3 separate regions of the Homo sapiens genome follow, and all the other regions are linked to region 1. The links are contacts of gene promoters, found by promoter capture Hi-C in human tissues and cell types (Jung and others, 2019). All regions are on one chromosome and are shown on one strand. The core of a region is centred on a gene start or on the middle of the fragment in contact, and the rest is flanking DNA. Distances in the headings are between cores, read along the strand shown. Region 1 holds the start of NTHL1 (nth like DNA glycosylase 1). Region 2 holds the start of FLYWCH1 (FLYWCH-type zinc finger 1). Region 3 holds the start of KCTD5 (potassium channel tetramerization domain containing 5).

What was found. Contacts are between HindIII fragments. The study calls those that stand out against the background at their distance.
Region 2: a contact is called between the fragment with the promoter of FLYWCH1 here and the fragment with the promoter of NTHL1 in region 1, in 1 of the 25 tissues and cell types used here (lymphoblastoid cells).
Region 3: a contact is called between the fragment with the promoter of KCTD5 here and the fragment with the promoter of NTHL1 in region 1, in 1 of the 25 tissues and cell types used here (spleen).

What each region holds. Positions count from the first base shown.
Region 1 is chr16:2,045,586-2,050,078 of GRCh38, forward strand. NTHL1 (nth like DNA glycosylase 1) reads right to left here and starts at 2,249. Exons shown (of 6, transcript NM_002528.7): 1 at 2,124-2,249; 2 at 543-781. The coding sequence starts at 2,238. It overlaps TSC2 (TSC complex subunit 2), which reads left to right and starts at 2,400. Exons shown (of 42, transcript NM_000548.5): 1 at 2,400-2,480; 2 at 3,002-3,168. The coding sequence starts at 3,031. RefSeq lists enhancers at 1,653-2,152, 1,744-1,803, 2,254-2,343 and a silencer at 2,434-2,663. The HindIII fragment of the contact is 27,107 bases long and covers 1-4,493 here.
Region 2 is chr16:2,909,732-2,914,224 of GRCh38, forward strand. FLYWCH1 (FLYWCH-type zinc finger 1) reads left to right here and starts at 2,200. Exons shown (of 10, transcript NM_001308068.2): 1 at 2,200-2,423; 2 at 4,445-4,493. RefSeq lists silencers at 1,951-2,010, 2,061-2,370, 2,391-2,540, 2,571-2,670, 2,644-2,833. The HindIII fragment of the contact is 21,473 bases long and covers 1-3,851 here.
Region 3 is chr16:2,680,262-2,684,754 of GRCh38, forward strand. It overlaps KCTD5 (potassium channel tetramerization domain containing 5), which reads left to right and starts at 2,262. Exons shown (of 6, transcript NM_018992.4): 1 at 2,262-2,539. The coding sequence starts at 2,288. RefSeq lists a silencer at 2,345-2,524 and enhancers at 2,620-3,230, 2,775-2,824, 2,895-2,944. The HindIII fragment of the contact is 14,940 bases long and covers 1-4,493 here.

The sequences.
Region 1 (4,493 bases), core at 999-3,498:
GCCACCACACCTGGCTAATTTTTGTATTTTTAGTAGAGACGTGGTTTCGCCACATTGGCCAGGCTGGTCTCGAACTCCTGACCTCAGGTGATCCACCCGCCTTGGCCTCCCGAAGTGCTGGGATTACAGGCCTGAACCACCATGCCTGGCCCATACTACCCATTTTACAGACAAGCAAACTGAGGCTCAGAGAGGCCTGTATCCAAGCCACCTGGTAGCAGAATAGGGATTAGAACTCAGCTTGGTCTAAGGGTTTCAGGCCCTGGGACCGTGAAGCAAAAGGAACTCTTCCTTCCTGATATCACACAAAGCCCAGGTCACGCCTGCACTGGGCAGAAGTTCGAGCACGAGGCCCTAAACCACTGGTGTCCTGACCTGCTGAGTGGCTACAGTGATGCAGGCGATGCTCTGGGGCACCGGGTGTCCATCCTCCCAAGGTGCTGTCTGCAGGGGAGGGTGCCAGCCAAAAGCCACCGGGTAGAAAGAAAACAAGGACCTTGCTAAGATGGGGGGTCATCTGGGCAGATGGGGCCCCTGCCTACCTTTGGGGGGGCACTGGAGTCATAGCAGTGCTCAGTCCCCAGATGGTCCACAGGTGCATCCTTTTTGTTCCTCATGGCACGGATGTTGACCAGCTGTTGCTGCCAGTCCTGGGGCTCCCAGACTGGCACCTTGAGGGGCTCAGCCCCCTCACCTTTCTCACTGTCCGAGCCCTCATAGGCCACACGCAGTCTCTGTGCTTTCCGCGGACGCTTCACGGGGCTGTGGCTTTTCCTCGCTTCTGCAAAAAGCACCACGCAGTCCCTCTGGTGGGGCCACAGGTGAAGGTAGGGTAGGGGTGCCATCCCGCCTGCTAGCTCACCCCTCACTCGTTCATGCCACAACTGTCCATCATCTAATACACTTGGGGTGCTCTGCCCTCTGCAGTCTGGGGTATGTGGGCCCTCCTTATGCCAGCGACCCTGACAAGGTCCATGTTAGCTCATGAGGACTCTAGCAACAGCCTGTACCAAGGTGCCCCCAATACATCTTCTATACTGCACCAGAGACAGTCTGCTAACACCCACATCAGGTTGTGTCACTCCCTTTTAAAAAATCCTGGCCGGCCGGGCGCGGTGGATCAAGCCTGTAATCCCAGCACTTTGGGAGGCCGAGGTGGGTGGATCACTTGAGGTCAGGAGTTCAAGACCAGCCTGGCCAATATGGCAAAACCCCATCTCTACTAAAAATACAAAAGTTAGCCGGGTGTGGTGGCAGGGGCCTATAGTCTCAGCTACTTGGGAGGCTGAGGCAGGAGAACTGCTTGAACCTGGGGGGCGGAGGTTGCAGTGAGCTGAGATCACAACACTCCACTACAGCCTGGGTGACAGAGCAAGACCCGATCTCAAAACAAACAACAAAACCTCCTAATTGACTTCCGTTTACTGTCATAATAAACTCCAAACTCTATCCTGGCATCAAAGCTCCTGCCACCCTGGCTGGCATCACCACCTGCCTGCTCCCAGCTGCACCAGTTCCTCCTGACATAGTCTGGACTACCCCTGGGGTCCCTGGGTGCCTATGGGAATCCAGCTCTGGCCAATTCTGCAGAAGTCCCAGCGGGACTAGCGCAGAGGCCCTGTCCGTGTCCCTCACTGCTCACTGCAGTGCTTGGCCCCCAGCAGGTCCTCAACGGCTGCAGGATAAATATAATAAGTGCCATGCCCTTTCCTGTTTTCCCTCAGAGGCACCCTCCCCCGAGCTGGGGGAGCAGGCTTCTGGCTGCGTGTGTCCTTGGCACCCAGCCTCTCCGAGGACAGCAAGTTCACTGCAGGAGGGCGGGGATGGGACCCACAGAGCCTGGAGTGGAGAGTCCCGGACAGAGTGGTGGGAAAGGAAGCGTTTTCTTGCTTGGGGCGAAAGGGGGCAGCGGAGCGGAGCGCCCGAAACCCAGCCCCTGCGGACCGCAATCTTTGGGAAAAAGGCGCAAGGTGGGAACGCAGGGCCGCACGTGGGAACCGTTCGCGGCTGCCGGGTTTGCAGCCCCTGCCCGCGCAGCTGGGAGCCGCAGGAGGCGGCCCGGGACTCCAGCCTGCAGCCCCTATCCCGCCTCCTCCCACGCTCCAGCCACGGCGCGGCGCTACCTGCTGCAGCCTCTCTTCTCCGGAGAGGCCCGGGCTCCTCCCTACACCCCCGCGGCCCAGCCCCGGGTCCCAGGCTCCGGCTCCGGGTCAGCATCCTCGCGCTCAAGGCGGTCATGCCGGACTCCTGCGGACTACACATCCCGGCGGCCCATGCGGCCCCGTCACGTGATGCAAGGATCGCCGGCCTTTCCGCCAGAGGGCGGCACAGAACTACAACTCCCAGCAAGCTCCCAAGGCGGCCCTCCGCGCAATGCCGCTACCGGAAGTGCGGGTCGCGCTTCCGGCGGCGTCCCGGGGCCAGGGGGGTGCGCCTTTCTCCGCGTCGGGGCGGCCCGGAGCGCGGTGGCGCGGCGCGGGGTAAGTGGCGGTCCCCACGGGGCAAGTGGCGGTCCCCACGGGGCAGCGGCCTAGAGAGGCGGACCCCGCAGTGTCCGGGTCCCGGGCCCTCACCCGCGCCCACTGCAACCCGACTCCGGAGCTCCGAGCATCCCTTAGTTTTAAGTCATGGCGGGTGCGAACGGGTCTCTGCTGCAGGCGGCTCCGTGACAGCTCCTGCTTCACATGGGTAGAGGAGAGACGGCAAACGTCGGGGCTCCCAGGACTTCGCGGCGGCAGTCCTAACCCGTGCACTGAGTCGGGCGGGGCGGGCGGCAGCGTCTGAGTAGAGAGCTCTCTAGACCAGGCCTGGTGTCTCCCGGGCTTTCCTAGGTGCCTGTTTGCGAGCTGGTCAGCTGGGCTGTAGTTGAGTTCTCCCAGGGAGTGTGGGAGGAAAGGTTATGCCCACCAGAGACCCAGGGTCCTGACGGCTGGAGGTCCGCAGTGGGGAAGGTGGGCAGAGGTGTTGCTCAGATGTCCCCATTCCTGTTTCGTTTGCACAGAGGGGTTTTCTGGTGCGTCCTGGTCCACCATGGCCAAACCAACAAGCAAAGATTCAGGCTTGAAGGAGAAGTTTAAGATTCTGTTGGGACTGGGAACACCGAGGCCAAATCCCAGGTCTGCAGAGGGTAAACAGACGGAGTTTATCATCACCGCGGAAATACTGAGAGTGAGTGAGCTACCTGTGTCTTTGCTAGGCTAGAGGGAAATGCAGAGAAGGCTGGGTTTGGTCTTGCACCAGGTTCTGTGGGAGACGGGTTGCTGGCAACTGTCTACACAGGAATGCTGTCTCCAGTACTTGGAGGCCGACATGTCCTTCCTCAGGAGACTTCGAAAGTCAGGATCTTGGTGACCTGGTTCAGGCACACTTGAGTTACTATTCAGATGTTGATGAAAGAAAGCCCATCTTATAGATGAGGCCTGAGTATCATCATCTTCACAGGTAAGGATATGTCCAGGTGTTACATGATAAGATGTGAGTTCCTGGGAGAAGTAGGTTCTTTATTTTATTTTTTTTTTGAGACTGAGTCTTGCTCTGTTGCCTAGGCTGGAGTGCAGTGGCACAATCTCTGCTCGCTGCTACCTCTGCCTCCCAGTTTCAAGTGGTTCTCCTGCCTCAGCCTCCTGAGTAGCTGGGACTACAGACACGTGCCACCACACCCATTTAATTTTTGTATTTTTAGTAGAGATGGAGTTTCACTATCTTGGCCAGGCTGGTCTTGAACTGCTGACCTCAGGTGATCTGCCCGCTTTGGCCTCCCAAAGTGCTGGGATTACAGGCATGAGCCATCGCACATGGGCTAGGTCGTTATCTTTTATGTGTGTTTGTGTCTTTGTCACACATGCCTGGCATTGTGTTTTGCCCATGAGTAAATGCTGAATTTTTGCACTTGTAAAGTTTTCTACTTAGAAACAACTAAAACGTTCATCAACTGATGAATAAAATATAGTCCATCCTGGCTGGGTGCGGTGGCTCACGCCTGTCATCCCAGCACTTTGGGAGGCCGAGGCGGGTGGATCACCTGAGGTCAGGAGTTTGAGACCAGCCTGGCCAACATGGCGAAACCCCGTCTCTACTAAAAATACCAAAAATTAGCCGGTCATAGTGGTGGGCGCCTGTAATTCCAGCTACTCGGGGGGCTGAGACGAGAATTGCTTGAACCCGGGAGGCGGAGGTTTCAGTGAGCCGTGATCGCGCCACTGCACTCCATCCTGGGGAAGAAGAGCAAAACTCCGTCTAAAAAAAAATTGTGCAGTTTGAAATTGTATTTCATGTTATGTTTTATCTCAATACAACATTTGCAGTTGTGAAAAAAAATTGCACATTCTCAACTCCTCGGGATGGAGCAGTAAAGCCCCTCAGTAAATCTTTTTTTTTTTTTTTTTTTGAGACCGAGTTTCGCTCTTGTCACCCAGGCTGGAGCGCAGGGGCGCGATCTCGGCTCACTGCAATCTCCGCCTCCTGGGTTCAAGGGATTCTCCTGCCTCACTCTC
Region 2 (4,493 bases), core at 950-3,449, 860 kb after region 1:
CGCAGTCAGACTCCTCTCAAAAAAAGCTGGAGGGGCTGGGCGTGGTGGCTCACGCCCGTAATCTCAGCACTTTGGGAGGCCGAGGCGGGCGGATCACAAGGTCAGGAGATCGAGACCACGGTGAAACCCCGTCTCTACTAAAAATACAAAAAATTAGCTGGGCGCAGTGGCAGGCGCCTGTAGTCCCAGCTACTCGGGAGGCTGAGGCAGGAGAATGGCGTGAACCCGAAAGGCGGAGCTTGCAGTGAGCCGAGATGGCGCCACTGCACTCCAGCCTGGGCGACAGAGCGAGACTCCGTCTCAAAAAAGAAAAAAAAAAAAAAAAAGCCGGGCGTGGTGGCAACTGTCTGTAATAATCCCAATCCCAGCTGCTCAGGAGGCTGAGGCAGGAGAATCACTTGAACCCGGGAGATGGAGGTTGCAGTGAGCTGAGGTCGTGCCACTGCACTCCAGCCTGGGCGACAGAGCAAGACTCCATCTCAAGAAAAAAAAAAAGTAATTAAGTTCTGCTACTATTTTATTTTTGAACAGGGTCTTGCTCTGTCGCCCAGCCTGGAGTGCAGTGGCATGAGCGCAGCTCACTGCAGCCTCCAGCTCCCAAGCTCAAGTGATCCTTCCACCTCAGCCTCCTGAGTAGCTGGGACTACAGCGCATCACCACATCCAGCTAATTTTCTCTTGTTCCTCTTTTCTTTTTTTCTGTAGAGAAAGAGTCTCACTATGTTGCCTAGGCTGATCTCAAACTCCTGGGCTCAAACGATGCTCCTGTCTCAGCCTCCCAAAGTGCTGGGATTACAAGCAAGAGTCACTGTACCCGGCCAACATGGATGAACTTTGAAAGTGCTATGCTAAGGCTAGGCGAAAGAAGTCAGTCACAAGAGACCACATATTTGTTGCATGATTTCATTTATATGAAATATGCAGAATACGCAAATCTATAAAGACAGAAAATAGATCATATTACTTAGGGCTGGGGTGATTAGCAAATTGGAGGGTGGTGGCTAAAGGTTTCTTCTTGGAGTGATGAAAGGTTTTAAAACTGACTATGGTGCTGTTTGCACAACTCTCTGACTATACTACATATCATTTAATTGTACACTTTAAATGGGAGAAATGCATGGTATGTGAATTATATTTCAATAAAGATCTTACCAAAAAATAGTAAGCTGATTGTGTTAACATAGTTTTATGAAAAAGTACAATATTTTCCCAAAGAAATTTAGTGAGACGAGTGACATAGTTATACATTTTTGCAAATATCTTTGTTGCGGGCTTAAAAGAAGACTACTGGCTCTCATACCTGCTTCTACATTCAATGTGTTACATCACACGTCATGCAGACTTTGTAATACTATGTAATATTTCTGCTTTTTTTTTTTTAGACACAGTCTCACTCTGTCGCCCAGGCTGGAGTGCAGTGGCGCCGTCTCGGCTCACTGCAACCTCCGCCTCCCGGGTTCAAGTTATTCTCCTGCCTCAGCCTCCCGAGTAGCTGGGATTACAGGCGCCCAGTACCACGCCCGACTAATGTTCGTATTTTTAGTAGAAACGGGGTTTCACCATGTTGGCCACGCTGTTCTCGAACTCCTGACCTCAGGTGATCCACCCGCCTCGGCCTCCCAAAGTGCTGGGATTACAGGCGTGAGCCACCGCGCCCGGCCCAGGTATTTTTTTGTCGTTGTTGGCTTTCTGATGTAAGAAACAACTGTCCCTTCTCCCCCGTTGACTTATTTCCTTCAGTTTGGACTCATATCGTAGTCAAGGTTATAATCCGTTGCTATCGCTGTTTATTTGAATCTCACACTGGTTCCGCTCTGGGGTAGGGTCACTGGGGGCGTCAATGAGATGCATGAGAATCGCCTTCCCACGGGGTCAGGAAACTGACAGGCCCAAGAGTGCATCTCAGCAAACGCTCCGTTTCCTGCGGGCAGCCTCAGATACTGGGGACCGTCCTGGGGTCTCAATTAAGCGCCCCCTACCCCAGCCCCTTTACGCCAAGAGCGTCCTGTTCAGCTCCCCCATCCTAGCTCCGCCCCTGGACGCCGCCGTCCAATCTCGGGATGGCCCCGCCTTTTCCGTGAGTTACGTCCCCGCCCCCATGCGCTGACAGGCCAGGCCTGCGGCTCGGCGCCGCGCAGGGAAGACCCGGAGCAGCGGTTTACCTAAGGAACGGGCCGCGCGGTCTTGCTGCGCATGCTCTGAAGTAGCGCGCCTGAGCGTTCCGCAAGGCCGGCTCCCCGGCGGGGTCGCGCGCGCGGTCACGGGGCTCGCTCCCGAGGGGCAGGTCGGGGCTGGGAGCTGGTGCCCGGGTCGGGGTGGCGGCGGCGGCCTGGGTCGCGGGGTCGACGCTCGCTGCTGCAGCGGCAGAGGCTGAAGGATCCGCCGCGGCGCTGTCGCGGGAGAGGGAGGGCCCCGCTGCCGTCGGTGAGGACAGGCCCCTGCGGGCGGGGAATGTCCCGCGTCCCCGGCGTGGACGCGCCCGCAGCCCGGCTCTCCCGGGGGTCCCGAGGGTTGCGGGTGCTGGGGAGGGGTCTGCGTCCCGGCGCTCAGGCCGCCTCCTGTGGGGTCTCCCGCGATTCCCTCCTTGCTCCTCGCCCCTCCATCCCCACCCCCCCGTCCCCTGGCCTAAGCCCGACACCCCCACATCAAGGATCCCCGCACTCGTCCGCCGTTTCCTGGCGGTGTCTGCCCCGCCCAGCGCTGCCTTCCTGGACCCGCAGCATCAGCCCCGTCCCACGGTTGCAGCTCGGGCGGTCCCAGTGACCTTGCACTTTTGCGGGTCGGGACGCACCCCGCTCCCGCTTCTGACCCTATAGATCTCCGGTGACGGCTTTCGAACTTTGTTGACCCACAGCCGACACTGAGAAATGCCTTTTACGCGTGTACTCTGTGCCTGTGGGTCTGGATGACTGAAGCACAAGTTTAAAGGGAGACGCTTGTTTAAGCTCACATGACGCAGCTGGATCTGTTCGGATTAAATTCCGTTCCATTCTCTTCCACCCCGTTCCAAAAGGCTGCTGCTAACCCATGGAGCCTGCACATAACGGGTCTGACGTAGTTGAAACCCTCGCTCTAAACCCTGCCTGTTGTTCCTTTATTCCTTGTACTGGAAGCTGAACTCCCATAGTCAGATAATCATGTGCAAACTCCAATTCCAACGAAATGGCTTATTTTTATTTGCATATTTCTGCTTTCCAAGGGCCAATATGATTTCCAGGGCTTGATCTAGATTTTCTCGTGTGATTATATCATGTTTCTCTTGTTCCTTTCCCAAGTGCTACTGGCGGGACGTGTGGAAGGAACAAGGCTGAGGTTGGGGCTAGATTGCGGAGTGTTTATGACGCCCAGCTGATGATGCACTAAGGCTGGAGATGGAGATGATTTAATTGGGGAGAGACATGCTGAAAGTTAAGCTTTAGGAAGAGTGACCTGTCAGCACCCTATGTGGAGAATTGGAGTGGCTGCTTGCCAAAGCTGGCAAGATCGTTCAGAGGCTTTGGCTTGGGCTAAAGAGGTCGTGGTAAGGGATCATGTCCTGAGTTGGTGGGAGTGGGAAGGAGAGGGAAGATGGGTATATCAGGCATAGAGGGAGAGAGATTTGAGGATGCATTAGGCTGTGGGAAGGAGTAAATAAACTTATATTATGATGGAGGGTGACTGGGGAATACCGGGCTGGGGGGGTCTCATTGGCCAAGCTCTCCCTTTCTGTGCGCTCTAATTTCTAAGTTGCTTTGGAGCTGTGGCTCTTGGGCAATTCTGCACCCCAGGGAACGTTCTGCAGTGTTGGTGGTCACAACGTGTGGTAGGGCATGACAGTGGGATCTGGCAGGTAGAGACCGGGGTTGCTGCTGAACACCCCACGCTGAACAGGACAGCCTCCCACAGCAGAATCATCCGGCCCAAAATGCCAACGGTGCTGAGATTGTGAAGTTCATTTTTAGAGTAAATTTTAATTATCTGGGCATCTCTGCCACCTTCAACCTCTTCAGGAGGAATGTCTGTGTGCACCCACTGAGCCTGTGATGTCACCATAGTGGTTCATGTCTGAGGCAAGTGCACCTCCAACGCTCATGGTTCAGTTGCGGGTAGGTGGGAGGTGGGTAGACACTGGAGTCATCCAGGAGCTTTAAAAAAAAATTTTTTTAGTAGAAATGGTGGGGGCGAGGGGCAGGTCTCACTATGTTGCCTAGGCTGGTCTCGAACTCCTGGGCTCAAACAATTCTCTCACCTGAGCCTCCCAAACTGCTGAGATGACAGGTGTGAGCCACCGTGCCACCGGCCCATTCAGAAGCTTTTTAAACAGAGGGCCTTCCCTCCTCCCGCTCCTATCACTCAGGACCCCTACTGCACCTGGATGCTGAACACCTTGTTCTTGTCTAATGGTCGACAGTTCATGGAATAATTTCACCTGCAGTATTTCATTTGCCACTTTACTTTCTTCACAGGTGAAACCAGCCCAGAGAAGTTACGGGATTTGCCCCCGGGGCTCCTGCC
Region 3 (4,493 bases), core at 1,012-3,511, 630 kb after region 1:
GGCTGGCAGCAAGTCCAGACCACCCAAATTTGGTTGGATTCTTCATTTCTCCACTGTAGTTGGGGTCCATTGATTGTGCAGGGGAACGTGCAGGAGGTTTTTCTAGGCACTGCGTTCAGTGCTGCTTCACTCTACCAGAGATTATGGCCAAATTGCACGGAATTTGGTTTCTTGCCCTCTGAAGCCTGAGGGCCCCCCCTTGCCTGGCTGGTTGACAGACCCGGGGTGCTCACTGCTGAGACTTCAGAGATCGCAGCTGCTGTGAGAATACGGTGAAGGTACTATGTTCTGGAAGATGTTGTCATACACTTTTCCCCAGTTATTTTCAAACTTGACATGAGCCTATGTTGACTCACTGGGTGGGGTCCCTTCTTACGCAGCACACGTGGCAAGTGCCTGAATCGGGGCTGGAGGCACTTCAGAGCCTCTGAGGGGCCACCACTTCTGGCCCAAAATTGCAGGGTTGTAGATGAGGCTGCCTGTGGAGAACTGGTGTGAGGAGGAAGCTGTTTCCAACAAAGAGCACTTTCATCTGTTGAGATGGCTGTGGTGAGCAACTGAACGAGCCTACGTGTGTACCTGAATTTTCCCCATAACTCATTTCTTCCATATGAAGAAACACCAAACTATGTACAGAGAACTTTTTACAAAAGGCAGACCTTTTTTAAGCTGTGTAACCCACATAGCCTAACCGTCTGGCAGAATGACTACGAATAGGGGTCATTGTGCTGGTAAAAGCCTCTATTACGACTGTTAAGTTGGATGTTGGCAAAATTAAATTGTTACAGTATTTAGAGCTGCTGTAGCTGTTCCTTCACAACATGAAATAGGATAAATGACTAGTACGTCTTTCAGGTGGGTGGCAGTCAGAACATGCGTAATATTCTCTACCTGGTCTGTAGCTGTAACTGTGATGTACAGACAAAGCAAAAATTAAAAGAACTCATGAAAACAAATAATACAATGGTATTAGGATATACACTTTTGTGTTTTTAATCTTATAGAAGGTTATTTGCTGGCTATTGTTGGCCTCTAGTTCAGCCTGTTATTTAAATTCTTTTTTTTTCTTGAGACGGAGTCTCACTCTGTCGCCCAGGCTAGAGTGCAGTGGCCTGATCTCGGCTAACTGCAACCTCCGCCTCCTGGGTTTAAGCAATTCTCTGCCTCAGCCTCCGAGTAGCTGGGATTACGAGCGCCCACAACCACATCTGGCTAATTTTTTGTATTTTTGGTAGAGACGGAGATTCACCATCTTGGCCAGGCTGATGTTGAACTCCTGACCTCGTGATCCACCCACCTTGGCCTCCCAAAGTGTTGGGATTACAGACATGAGCCACCGCGCCCGGCCTAAATTCTAATATATGAATTATTTGTATTGAATTCATGTTCGGGGCCACGTTGTTATATGTATTGATATACAGCCTTGAATGTGAATAATTACTATATATTTTACAACTTTTTTCTGGCTTTATTACAAAAACTTTCTTTTTTTTTTTTTGAGACAGACTCTCGCCCTATCACCAGGCTGGAGTGCAGTGGCGAGATCTCAGCTCACTGCAACCTCTGCCTCCCGGGTTCACGCCATTCTCCTGCCGCAGCCTCCCGAGTAGCTTGGATTACCGGCGCCCACCACCGCGCCAGGCTAATTTTTGTATTTTCAGTGGAGACCGGGCCTCACCATGTTGGCCAGCGTGGTCTCGATCTCCTGACCGCCTGATCCTCCCGCCTCGGCCTCCCAAAGTGCTGGGATTACAGGCGTGAGCCACCAGGCCCCGCCCTTATTATATAAATTTTCTATTGGGTCAATGATTTAATCATATAATTTAATGAATCTGTTCTTTTTTTCCCCCCAAATATTTGTGCTTTAGGTGTAGTTACCAGATGATGAATTTTCCTCCTATGCTCCGTAGTCTTGTAATAAAAAGCATGTACAGTGTAGACGTTTGCTGGCATGGCTCTTCCTTTGACCAGTTCATGAACTGGAGTCAGGGTGGGGGTGAAGGCTAGGGTCGAGGTCTGGGTCAGGCGCTCGTGCACCGCTCGTGGGAGGTCGAGGCTGATGTCCGCTGCTCCCCATCAGCGTTAGTGCCCAGATCACCCCGTGCTCCGCTCCCGCCGGAAGCGGGCCCAGCCTCCTGCTTTTCGGGACCGGAACTTCCGCCTACCGCGTGACGCCGGGGCGGGCGCTCTACCAGGGCGGACCTGTGGGCGGGACAGAACTCAGAGGACGCTATTAAAAGCCGGACGCTTCCGGTGGAAGGGAGCTGTTGCGGGGCTTGCTGGGATCATGGCGGAGAATCACTGCGAGCTCCTGTCGCCGGCCCGGGGCGGCATCGGGGCGGGGCTGGGGGGCGGCCTGTGCCGCCGCTGCAGCGCTGGGCTCGGCGCCCTGGCCCAGCGCCCTGGCAGCGTGTCCAAGTGGGTCCGACTCAACGTCGGCGGCACCTACTTCCTCACCACTCGGCAGACCCTGTGCCGGGACCCGAAATCCTTCCTGTACCGCTTATGCCAGGCCGATCCCGACCTGGACTCAGACAAGGTGAGGGCCTCACGGGCCAGCCCGGAGGGTCCTGGCCTTCCCGGCCTGCGGCTCCTGCACACGCCCTGCTTCGTGCGGAGGAGACTTCAGCGGGAGCGGGCGACTCTCCTCGGGCTTCGAGCCCCGCGCTCCCTTGTCGCCAGCTCCTCCCCAGCTTGCCCCGATCCCCTACCCTGGGAGGGGAGGGTGAGGATGGCGCCCTGGCGTCCACTGCCTTTGAGGATCCTGAGTCGATTCACCTTGGGGGTGTCTCTTCCTCGCCCTCTTTGCTCTTTGGTGGAGGAGGCTTCCTAGACCCCGGACTTTGCTGTGATTCTACTTTCTTTTTCTCACTAGGTTCTTTTGCCCAGGGTGTGTGAACGCCTTCTCTTCTCTGTCCCAGGGTACTTGCTGGCTCTGGAAACAGAACCCTTGGCGTTGTTTCACATTCTGGACGTTTGAATTAACGCTGACGTGGGGGTTGATATGGGCGGCCCTTTTTTTCCCTGGTGACTTGCATTTAGAGAGTTGGCGCTCCATCCTTTCCATCCACAGCACGCAGCACCCACTCAGCACCTCTTAGAAGATGCGTCCGTAGTATATAGTATGATTTTTCGAAGGGGATTTTGCTCATATTAAGGGTTGCTTTAGGGATGTCCAGGAAGGGTCAGGTAAGGAATCTTTCAATCTGCTTTCTAATTGGCTTAGTTTTCCCACTGTCTTCGCAAAAGGACAGGAATTTCCAGGTTAGTTTGCAGCTTGTCTTTCATCAAGCGAAATGCTCATGCTGTTGGGTAGATGGTAATAGAAACCTTTTGCTACCTTTATTTATCAAGAGTTGTGGAGCCGAGGAACCGTGTCTTGGGAGTTGTGCAGGATTGAAACTCACAAAAAAGCCTGTTTGAAGAAGTTGTTACCTATATTTATTCAAGGCAGTTCACAAGCCTTATACTAACTTTGCGGGGTCTTTCAGTTGAGCTTACATGACTGCGCTTGGCTTTGTGCCTTGGCAGCCAACATTTGCCATGCAGGAGGCTTCCCAGAAAGGTTCGGATCCCTCTTCAAGTTTGAGAAGCCTGACTGAGACCATTCTCAGCATGGCATGACCGTGATCAGGAAGTGAGAATCTGGAGTTACTGCTAAGGCAGCCTTGTGGGTGGAAATGAGGGTTTGAGATGCCAACCCTCCTGTGCCTCCCCACAACTTCCAACTGTTTCCATTGCTCATTTGACCAAGCCCTCTACTCAGAGAATTGACCTCCCAGGAAATGACAGTCATCCCCAGGATAGAAATAGGCGTTTGTTAGCTGTGATTTTCCTTTTATAAGTGTGGGTGTATGTTTTACTGTTTGGTTTTTCTTTTTAAATAACAGGGCTTAGTGGTCACTCCCTTGCCTTTCTACTCAAGCATTCCTGTTTTGTATATGAAATTAGAGTTTAAATTGCTCTTGTCCATTGGGTTCTTTGAGGCAATGGTTGTCTATTCAGCACTGGAGCACTTGATTCCCAGTTGATGAACTTTAGCACAGTTAAGGTGGTTGATCCCTTTGCTTTACTGTTCCTTAAGACTTTGTTAAAAATTATGGGCCAGGCGCGGTGGCTCATGCCTGTAATCCCAACACTTTGGGAGGCCCAGGCAGGTGGATCTCGTTCAAAACCAACCGGGCCAATATGGTGATGCCCGGTCTCTACTAAAAATACAAAAAGGTGGGCGCGGTGGCTCACGTCTGTAATCCCAGCACTTTGGGAGGCCGAGGCAGGCGGATCACGAGGTCAGGAGATCGAGACCATCCTGGCTAACATGATGAAACTCTGTCTCTACTAAAAATACAAAAAATGAGCCAGGCGCGGTGGCGAGCACCTGTAGTCCCAGCTACTAGGCAGTCTGAGGCAGGAGAATGGCGTGAGCCTGGGAGGAGGAGCTTGCAGTGAGCCTAGTTAGCGCCACTGCAGTCCAGCCTGGGTGAAAGAGCAAG